Linked DNA regions of Homo sapiens: region 2 is linked to region 1. The links are contacts of gene promoters, found by promoter capture Hi-C in blood cells and fetal thymus (Javierre and others, 2016). All regions are on one chromosome and are shown on one strand. The core of a region is centred on a gene start or on the middle of the fragment in contact, and the rest is flanking DNA. Distances in the headings are between cores, read along the strand shown.

Evidence for each region. The method cuts DNA at HindIII sites, captures the fragments that hold promoters and counts their contacts. A CHiCAGO score of 5 or more calls a contact.
Region 2: a contact is called between a fragment that was not itself captured here and the fragment with the promoter of LINC01588 in region 1, in 8 of 17 cell types (activated CD4 T cells, naive CD8 T cells, total CD4 T cells and 5 more). The highest score is 10.1, in activated CD4 T cells.

Annotation. Positions count from the first base shown.
Region 1 is chr14:50,004,935-50,010,253 of GRCh38, reverse strand. It overlaps LINC01588 (long intergenic non-protein coding RNA 1588), which reads left to right and starts at 2,734. Exons shown (of 4, transcript NR_126498.1): 1 at 2,734-4,660. It overlaps LINC01599 (long intergenic non-protein coding RNA 1599), which reads left to right. Exons shown (of 9, transcript NR_131171.1): 9 at 2,835-2,941. RefSeq lists an enhancer at 396-896. The HindIII fragment of the contact is 14,705 bases long and covers 1-5,319 here.
Region 2 is chr14:49,843,858-49,849,176 of GRCh38, reverse strand. It overlaps NEMF (nuclear export mediator factor), which reads left to right. Exons shown (of 33, transcript NM_004713.6): 4 at 2,912-3,037. Among named protein-coding and RNA genes, the nearest start is that of NEMF, 6.3 kb to the left of the region's middle. The HindIII fragment of the contact is 733 bases long and covers 2,839-3,571 here.

The DNA of each region.
Region 1 (5,319 bases), core at 1,485-3,984:
ACTGCAAGCTCCACCTCCCAGGTTCCAGCCATTCTCCTGCCTCAGCCTCCCGAGTAGCTGGGACTATAGGTGGCCGCCACCACACCCGGCTAATTTTTTGTATTTTTAGTAGAGACGGAGTTTCACCGTGTTAGCCAGGATGGTCTCGATCTCCTGACCTCATGATTCGCCTGCCTCGGCCTCCCAAAATGCTGGGATTACAGGCATGAGCTACCATGCCCGGCGGAAATACTTTGCTTTTTAAAAATTTTATTTTATTTAAAAATTTTATTTTTAGGCTGGGTGTGGCGGCTCATGCTTGTAATCCCAGCACTTTGGGAGGCTGAGGCAGGCGGATCACCTGAGGTCAGGAGTTCGAGAACAGCCTGGCCAACGTAGTGAAACCCTGTCTCTACTAAAAATACAAAAAAATTAGCCGGGCGTGGTGGTGCATGCCTGTAATCCCAGCTACTCCGGAGGCTGAGGCAGGAGAATTGCTTGAACTCGAGAGGCGGAGATTTGCAGTGAGCCGAGAGCGTGCTATTGCACTCCAGCTTGGGTGACAAAGGTGAAACTCCGTCTCAAAAAAAAAAAAATTATTTTTAATTTACGTATTTTTAGAGATGGGGTCCAGCTATGTTGCCCAGGCTGGTCTCAAACTCCTGGCCTCAAGTGATCCTCCCTCCTCAGCCTCTCAAAGTGCTGGGATTACAGGCTGGAGCCACTGTGCTGGTCACACATTGCTTTTGATTGCTAGAAACCAGTTTATACTTCAGACTTGAGCCAGCTGGTGATCAGTTCTCTTTAAATTGCAAATGATATAAACTCCAATTCAAATGGACTTCAGCAAAAAAGATAATTCATCAGCACATATAACTGGAAGTTCAGGGGCTTCACATACTGCTGAATTCGGGTGCTTCGACCGGTCATCAGGACTCAGCTCTCAGAGTTGCCTTGTCTCTGTGGCTCTTCCTCTCCCGAGAGTGGCAAGATGGCTACCGGCATCCTTAGGGTCACACTGGAACAGGTTAGAAGTTCCTGTGGAAAGCTAGACACTTTCCCAATAGTTACAAATATTACATACATATATATACAAAGCGTCCTGGGACTGACTCATTTAACTGACACGTACCAGTCCCTGAAGGCCTTGTTGATTGGCCAGGCCTGGGTCAGTCCTGAATCTGGGTGGGGTCAGCCTCACCAGAACAGCACAGTGAGTTTGGGGGTAGGGGGACGGAATATGCAAAGAAAAGCCAGGACAACACTAAGCAGACAAAATAAAGGTTTTTTTTTCCCCCTATTACAACCAAGGCCACCTGGATTTCATAATTCCTGCCCAGGAGGCAAACCTGGCTCACTAATTTCAGTGTTCTTTATTAAAGACACACACAGCAGAGACAGAGGAAGAGAAACCAGAAGAGGGAGGTGAGGATGGAGCCTCTAAGGGCAAGAATGCATTCTTTTTTTTTTTTTTGAAATTTTGTTTTCGTTTGAGACAGGGTCTCACTCTGTCACCCAAGATAGAGTGCAGTGGCACAATCACAGCCCACTGCAGCCTCAACCTCCCTGGGTTCAGGCAATCCTCCCACTGCAGCAACCTCCCCAGTAGCTGGGACTACAGGTGCATCCTCATGCCTGGCTAATTTTTGTGGTTTTTTTTTTTTTTTTTTTTAGAGATGGCGTTTTGCCATGGTGCCCAGGCTGGTCTCAAACTCCCAGGCTCAAGTGACCCACCCACCTTGGCCTCCCTAAGTGCTGGGATTACAGGCATAATCATGGCACCCAACTGAGCGCTGCAAGGGTCTTTTCCAAGCTGAGTGCTGTAAGGGTCTGGGTTAGGCAAGGAAGACACTAAGGGTGTGGCCACTTGCTGTACAGTGGAGCAGGGGCCTTAGAACTACATAGAAGAATGCAAGCAAGCTCCCCCTTTCTCTGGAGAAACAGCATCTCTATTTTCCAAGCATACATGCTATACCAGCATCCTTGGAAAGATGATCAAATAAAAGACAGACAGTGTGTCTGCTTGCAAGATATACAGAAATGTGGCCAGGCACGGTGGCTCATGCCTGTAATCCCAGCACTTTGGGAGGCTGAGGCGGGCAGATCACGAGGTCAAGAGATTAAGACCATCCTGGCCAACATGGTGAAACCCCATCTCTACTAAAAATTAAAATATTAGCTGGGCGTGGTGGCATGCACCTGTAGTCCCAGCTACTCGGGAGGCTGAGGCAGGAGAATCGCTTGAACCCATGAGGCGGAGGTTGCAGTGAGCCGATCATGCCACTGCACTCCAGCCTGGTGACAGAGCGAAACTCCATCTCAAAAAAAAAAAAAAAGGAAATATATAGAAGAATGCCTTCTGAATAATCATTTCTTTTTTGAAATTGTGGCAAAATCTCCCTGGACTCAAGGGATGGGTGTAAAAAGCAGTTAGGCAGAGGATGAGGGCCTGTGCCTGAGGCGTCCAAGGGCAGCCCCAGCTCCCTGCAGATCCAGTGCAGCGGGATGTGCAGGTAGATCTCCCTCCCCAGGGCACAAAGCTGGGTGGGGAACAGCTGTCAGAACCAGCCACACCCCACCCCACCCTGCCCAGGCATCAGAAACCTCAGGGAAATGCCTAGATACTCCACCTCAAGGAAAACATTGAGGCCCTGTAGCCAGGAGTGCCCTGTTTGTGTCTAAAAGTTGCCCCAGCCCAAATTTACAGCTGGGAGGATCAGAAGGGCAATCTCTGTCTTCTCCCAAAAGGAAATCATACCCATAGTTACCACTGGGAGCAGGGTGGGCCGTTTACACTCCTCATCCTACCTCGCCATCACCTTAGGAAGCAGCCATTCTCCTTGTCTTTACTGTAGAGGAGGAAGCCTGGACAGCCTGCAGTTGAGGGGACCTGCACAAGCTCACAGGACTCTTCATCACCATGACACCACGCTCACCGCAAAATAAAAATGATCAAACCTGTCATGATGTCAGCAGCACCGGTGTTGGTCTTTGTGGGAAAGAAAAACACAGGCCAGGGCTGCAGCACGATTGTGTCTGCCCAGCTCTTGCAGCCTGGAGAACACCGTTGGATTCCCTCCCACACATGCTCCCAGGCTGCCTGCCTGCCTCACTTACCTGCTCAGGGTGGGGCTTGAGGGTGGCCCCTGGGAAGAGTAAGAACTGGCCAAGACTGAGATGTCCTTCCCTCATTTAAGGTACCGCCTTTTCCCTTTTCCCGCCATCCTGGGTGCATGGATACTTGGGATTAGAAACTGGACTGGAAATGTAATCTTTCTTCGGTTTGGGGCTGAGAACTGGGGATTAGTAGGATTTTGAGTTTATGGCACAGCCTTTTCTTACACCATTTCCTAAAAAGCAGTTAAGATTACACCAGGCACAGTGGCTTACGCCTATAATCTCAGCACTTTGGGAGGCTGAGGCAGGTGGATCAAGACCAGCTTAACCAACATGGTGAAACCCCATCTCTACTAAAAATACAAAAATTAGCTGGGCGTGGTGGCACGCATTTGTAGTCCCGGCTACTTGGGAGGCTGAGGCAGGAGAATTCCTTGAACCCGGGAGGCGGAGGTTGCGGTGAGCTGAGATTGCACCATTGCACTCCAGCAGCCTGGGCAACAGCAACGAAACTCCGTCTCAAAAAAAAAAAAAAATTACAGTCATCTCCCAGAAAAATCAAGAAGGAAGAACCTTGGAGGTTCAACCTATAGAAGATATGTTCTCATGGAATAAACCAAAAATAATTTTTATTTTCTAAAAAATCAAGAACAGAAGTCTCTCAACATTTAAGTTTTACAAACAAATAGAATCTGAGCCACTGGGTTAAACATGACAAACGACACACAGTAACAAATATTGAAGACATCATAATGCCAAAGCAACAGAAGCAGCACCAGAAATGTTGCTGAGGCCACCATTTAATTAACGCAAGTTGAACATATGGCTTTGGTTACATGTGGTTCCAGGCCAGAGGCATGGAAGTCAGTGTTTGTGGGAAAGCCAGGAGGAAAAGCTCCTCTCCCCACCTCCACCTTGTCACTCCAGGTTCTGGTGACCCCATCTCGGGACACGGCCTCCCATTTCACTCCTGCACCAACCCCACTCTTGTAACACTGCACATGCAAGATGTGAGCATCTTCAAAGTACGAATATTGCCTTCTTCATTTTAGAATCCATGATGTGCTTGTGGGGAGAATGAATGAATGCTCAAACATGAATGGAGAGAGACAGAGAGGAAGTGCAGGTCTAACCAAGGAAACCTTCTTTCCTAGAAAATCGTTGATGAGCCCGGAAAGAGTTGGCTGAACAACGGTAACAATTCTTTTATTATTATTTAACTTATTAAGTTATTAGAAAAAGTAAAAGAGTGAGTCGAGGTTTTTGGATTGGAAGTAGGGACCCACTGAGTTCCCTCCAGGATTGTGGAGTTTCTTTTACAGCCACATGTGGATAAGAAACTAAGGGCCACAGACCAAATGACAGGTCGGATGGCAACCCTGGAAAAGTCACACAGCTCAGCCTGTTGGAGGAAGAGGAGCAGTAGAACCTGTGTGGAGCCTGACAGAACCCAAGATGCCATTCACGAACCGAGAGGTCTTTCAAGATCACACACAGTTCTACGACACAGACATTTCGTCTTCTTGCCACTCAGTAGCGGGGCCCATCCCTCTGTGCCTCCAAGGTCCGTGTGCCATGTGGAAAACTCAGGTGTTCTGTCTCTGCCAGGACCTTCTTCCTGCTGCTTATTTAAGTGTCTGCTGCTTCGGGGCCTCAGGTGCCTGCTTTATCTCTTTCTCCTTTACTATCAAGTCTTTAAGCAATTTGCCAAGACGGAGAATCTCACTGGCCTGGTGGGGCTGAGCCTTCCTTCACTGGCTGACCAACTGGGAAGTGGGCTGCTGCCTAGATCAGGTGCGTGCCACAGTTCATCTAGCCGTGCCCAGAGTTCTAAGGTTATGCGCATGACCCCGTGTGTGGGCAGAGGCTCTTAGCAGGGGCCGAGAGCATTGGAGGCATCTTGAGGGCCAGAGTCCCCAGCCCCAGATCACAGATACGGCATGATCAAAATGTGAGGGAGCAGGGGCAGAGATTATTTGGAATAACGTGCTGAGTTTGTATACTTTTGACAATTAAAAGCCCTATGTCCCCCTGATGTTACGCATATGCTCCAGAGGAGCCACTCGGGACAAAGAATCAATAATGGGCGCTTGGTGTGCATTGAAAGCTGACAGTGTATATTTGTGGGGACTATACAGGGAAAGGAATATGAAGCCTTGACAAGATATGGTGAGTATGTATCGGTGAGGTAGGTAACTCATTCATAAGGGACTTTGCAAGGTG
Region 2 (5,319 bases), core at 1,956-4,455, 160 kb after region 1:
GATAGCCCTACATGTAGGTTACTGTTTAATCAAATCAGTATAGGTCATTCTTAAAACTACTGAGTTAAGGAGGAGCAGATTGTTTATCCTAGGAAGTTATTCTGCCTATGTGAGTATATAAAATGCGAATTTCAGTCAATTTGGGCTATAAGGTCTGGAGAAGAACTCTTCTTAGTTATGAAAATGTTAGCATTAATTTTAATAATGAATTTATGTGTTTATTGTTGTTTTTTTTCAACCTTTGTCAAGGAGTGGATTTTTTGTCTTTTTTTTGAAGGTGGTCTTAGATTAACTTCTGTAAAATTTGTTTCGTATTTAAGTCTTTTTTTTTTTTTTTTTTTTTGAGACGGAGTCTTGCTCTGTCACCAGGCTGGAGGGCAGTGGCGCAGTCTTGGCTCACTGCAACTTCAGTCTCCTGGGTTCAAGTGATTCTCGTGTCTCAGCCTCCCAAGTAGCTGGGATTACAGGCACACGCCACCATGCCTGGCTAATTTTTGTATTTTTAGTAGAGATGGGGTTTCACCATGTTGGCCAGGCTGGTCTTGAACTCCTGACGTTGTGATCCGCCTGCCTCGGCCTCCCAGAGTGCTGGGATTACAGGCGTGAGCTGCCATACCCAGACCGTATTTGAGTCTTGAAGAAAGCATTCTTTCTTATTGGTCTTAACTAAAGGGTCTTTTATATTAAAAAATTAGAAACAATTGTAAGATATTTTAGAGGCTACAGAGTAGTCTTGTTACCAGTCCATGTCATACTTCAATATTTGTACAAAAAGACGGTACATGTAATCTAAAAGAGTAGGTATTGCCAAGTAAATTGTATTTGGATTTGATATACTAATATTATTTTAATTGTTAATAAGAAAAAGAACCTTATGGCCAGGGATAGGAGGAAGGGGATTTAATAAAGAATGAGAGTTATTACATTGGATTGAAATAGGTTATCAAAAGCTTAGAGACGATACCAGGAAAATTCTCTTTGGGTTATATTAGTAAAGTTTGTAGGAATAAGCTGGGCACAGTGGCAGGGCACTTGTAATCCTAGCTACTTGGGAGGCTAAGGTGGGAGATTGCTTGAGTCCAGGAGTTTGAGCCTTGCCTGGGCAACAGAGAGACTCTGTCCCTTTCTTTTTTTTTTTTTTTTTTGAGACAGAGTCTTGCTCTGTTGCCCAGGCTGGATTGCAGTAGTGTCATCTCGGCTCACTGTAACCTCCGCCTCTTGGGTTCAAGCGATTCTTTTGCCTCAGCCTCCTGAGTAGCTGGGATTACAGGCATGCGCCAGCACGCCCAGCTAATTTTTGTATTTTTAGTAGAGATGGGGTTTCACCATATTGGCCAGGCTGGTCTTGAACTCCTGACCTCAAGTGATCCACCTACCTCGGCCTCCCAAAGTGTTGGGATTACAGGCCTGAGCCACCGCTCCTGGCAAAGACTCTCTTAAAGAAAAAAAAAAAAAAAAAAAAAAAAAAAAGAATTGGTAGGGGTAACTGGATATAAGGTGGTGGACTATTTACAGGATACCATAAGCCATAAGCTCATGGTCCATAGTTGATATGTATTAGAAGTAGAAGATTAGTGGAAACAATTAATTAATTTTGAACATAAATGAAGCATACAAAAGGGAAATTTGGCATACTTAGAAGTGTCATCAAAGAGACTTAAAAAAAATAAAGGGACTGGGTGTGGTGGCTCACGCCTGTAATCCTAACACTTTGGGAGGCCGAGGTGGGCAGATTGCCTGAGCTCAGGAGTTCGAGACCAGCCTGGGCAACGTGGAGAAACCCCGTCTCTACTAAAATACAAAAAATTAGCCAGGCGTGGTAGTGGGCGCCTGTAGTCCCAGCTACTCTTGGGAGGGTGAGGCAGGAGGATTGCTTGAACCTGGGAGGCAGAAGTTGCAGTGAGCCAAGATTGTGCTACTGTACTCCAGCCTGGGTGACAAAGTGAGACTCCGTCTCCAAATAAATAAATAAATAAATAAATAAGTAAAGGTTGGCTGGGCACAGTGGCTCATGCCTGTAATCCCAGCACTTTGGGAGGCTGAGGTGGGCGGATCACGAGGTCAGAACTTCGAGACCAGCCTGACCAACATGGTGAAACCCCGTCTCTACTAAAAATAGAAAAATTAGCCGGGTGTGGTGGCACACGCCTGTAATTTCAGCTACTCAGGAGGCTGAGGCAGGAGAATCACTTGAACCTGGGAGGCGGAGGTTGCAGTGAGCTGAGACTGTGCCACTGCATTCCAGTCTGGGCGACAGAGCGAGACTCTCTCTCAAAATAAAGTAAATAAATAAAGGTTGTGGCTTATGAGTGAGGTCATTAGGACCACAACAAGGAATTTAGCAGTGGTATAAAGCAACAAAGCAAATTTTGCTATAGGTCCATCATTCTCTACTTAAAAATTGAAAATAAAAGCCTGGCTCAGTAGCTTACGCTTGTAATCCCAGCACTTTGGGAGGCCAAGGCAGGAGGATTGCTTGTGCCCAGGAGTTTGAGATTAGCCTGGGCAACATAGTGAGACCCTGTCTCTACAAATAATGAAAAAATTAGCTGGGGATAGTGGCATGTGCCTGTGGTCCCAATCCTCAGGAGGCTGATGCAGGAGGATCACCTGAGCCAGGGAAGTCGAGGCTGCAGCGAGCCATGATCACACCACTGGGCTCCAGTTTGGGTGACAGAGTGAGACCCTGTCTTAAAAAAATGCAAATAAAACACTGTTTCAGAGTTAGTGTTTATAATAAAATGTTTTCCCTCTGATTATCATCTGCAATCTATTACTTTATGACTATACTGTTATTCACAACGTTTTAAATATTCCTGATGATAATGAAAAGAAGCTTATTTATAAACCAATACCAAATGGTTAGGAATTCACTTTTACTAAATGAATGCCTTTTTCTTTCTCTTGCTAGTGCCGAAAACATTTGAAGAGTCGGAGATTAGTCAGTGCAAAACAGCTTGGTGTGGATAGAATTGTAGATTTTCAATTTGGAAGTGATGAAGCTGCTTACCATTTAATCATTGAGCTCTATGATAGGGTAAGTTAAATTTGTGGGATATGGTGAAGGAAAATTTCTTATTAATCATTTTGTAATAGTGCTATATAACATGAGTGGGGGAACATTTTTTTTCTGTGTCAAAGGTTGTTACTACCCTAGGAAATGGGTGCCACACAAATAAAATAAAATTTTCCAGTAATAACCTTCATTTTATCTGTAGGTCTGAGTTTAGGCAGACTTTAGCCATTTAGAATAGCCTTATGAATGTAGGAGATGAAGATCTGAGAAGTAAATTATTTGGTACTTGACATTTCAGGACTAATATGCAACCAGAAAATAGTCAAATACGGTCATGCACTGATGCGCTGTATGTATAGTGATGTTTCAGTCAACAACAGACTGCATATAAACGTTGGTCCTGTAACATTGTAATGGATCTAATAAATTCTTACTGCTTAGTGACATCTTGATCCTGACTCTGTGTAGGCCTAGGCTGGTGTGTGAGTTTGTGTGTTAGTTTTTAACAAAAACATTAAAAGTAAAAACAAAACAATTTAAAATGGAAAAAAAGCTTAGAGAATATGGATCTAAAGAAAGAAAGTATTGTACAGCTGTACGATATGTGTTTTAAGCTAAGTGTTATTACAAGAGTCAAAAAGCTAAAAAGTTTAAAGTTTATAAAGTAAAAAAGTTCCAGGAAGCAAAGGTTAATTTATTATTGAAGAAAGAAAAACATCTTAAAAATAAATTTGGCTGAGCGCAATGACTCAGGCCGGGCACAGTGGCTCACACCTGTAATCCTAGCATTTTGGGAGGCCGAGGAGGGCGGATCACCTGGGGTCAGATCACCTGGGGTCAGGAGTTCAAGACCAGCCTGGCCAACATGGCAAAACCCCGTCTCTATTAAAAAATACAAAAATTAGCTGGGCGTGGTGGCGGGCACCTATAATCCCAGCTACTCGGGAGGCTGAGGCAGGAGAATCACTTGAACCTGGGAGGCAGAGGTTCCAGTGAGCTCAGATTGTGTCACTGTGCTCCAGCCTGGGCAACGGAGCAAGACTTTGTCTCAAAAATAAACTAACTAACTAACTAACTAACTAACTTAATCTGGGCCAGGTGTGGTGGCTCACACCTGTAATCCCAGCACTTTGGGAGGCCAAGGCGAGTGGATCACCTGAGGTCAGGAGTTTGAGACCAGCCTGCCCAATGTGGCAAAACTGCATCTCTACTAAAAATACAAAAATTAGCCTGGTGTGGTGGTGCGTGCCTGTAGTCCCAGCTACTCGGGAGGCTGAGGCAGGAGAATCACTTGAACCTGGGAGGCAGTGGTTGCAGTGAGCTGAGATCATGCCATTGTACTCCAGCTCAGGTGACAGAGTGAGATTCAGTCTCAAAAAGGAAAAAAAAAATATATGTGTGTGTGTGTGTGTGTGTGTGTGTGCGCGCGCGTGCGCGTGCGTGTGTATGTATATAAATAAATAAATACATAAATTTAATCTGGTCTGAGGTAAGCATAATTTTTTTAAAAATTAAAAAATAAAAAACAAATTTAGTGTAGCCCAAGTGTGCAGTATTTATCAAGTCTACAGTAGTATGCAGTAATGTCCCAGGCCTTCACATTTACTCACTGTCACTCACCCAGAGCAGTTTTCAGTCCTGCATGCTCCATTCATGGTAAGTGCCCTATACAGGTGTTCCATTTTTAATCTTTTATACCAGGGATCTTCAACCCCTGTGCCGCAGACTGGAACTGGTCTGTGGAACCAGGCCACACGGCAGGAGGTGAGCAGTATGCGAGTGAGCATTACTCACCTGAGCTCTGCCTCCTGTCAGATCAGTGGTGGCATTAGATTCTTATAGGAGCGTGAACCCTATTGTGAACTGTGCATGCAAGGGATCTAGGTTGCATGCTTCTTGCGAGAATCTAATGCCTGATGATCTGAGGTGGAACAGTTTCATCCGGAAACCATACCCCTGCACCCCCCATCCATGGAAAAATTGTCTTCCATGAAACTGGTCCCTGGTGCCAAAGGCTGGGGACTGCGGTTTTTTTTTTGTTTTGTTTTGGTTTTTTTTTTTTGATACAGAGTCTCACTTTGTTGCCCAGGCTGCAGTGCAAGGGTGTGATCTCAGCTCACTGCAACCTCTGCCTCCCGGGTTCAAGCAATCCTAGTGCCTCAGCCTCCTGAGTAGCTGGTATTACTGGCATGTACTACCATGCCCAGCTAATTTTTGTATTTTTAGTAGAGATGGGGTTTCACCATATTGGCCAGACTGTTCTCAAACTCCTGACCTCAGGTGATCTGCTCGCCTTGGCCTCC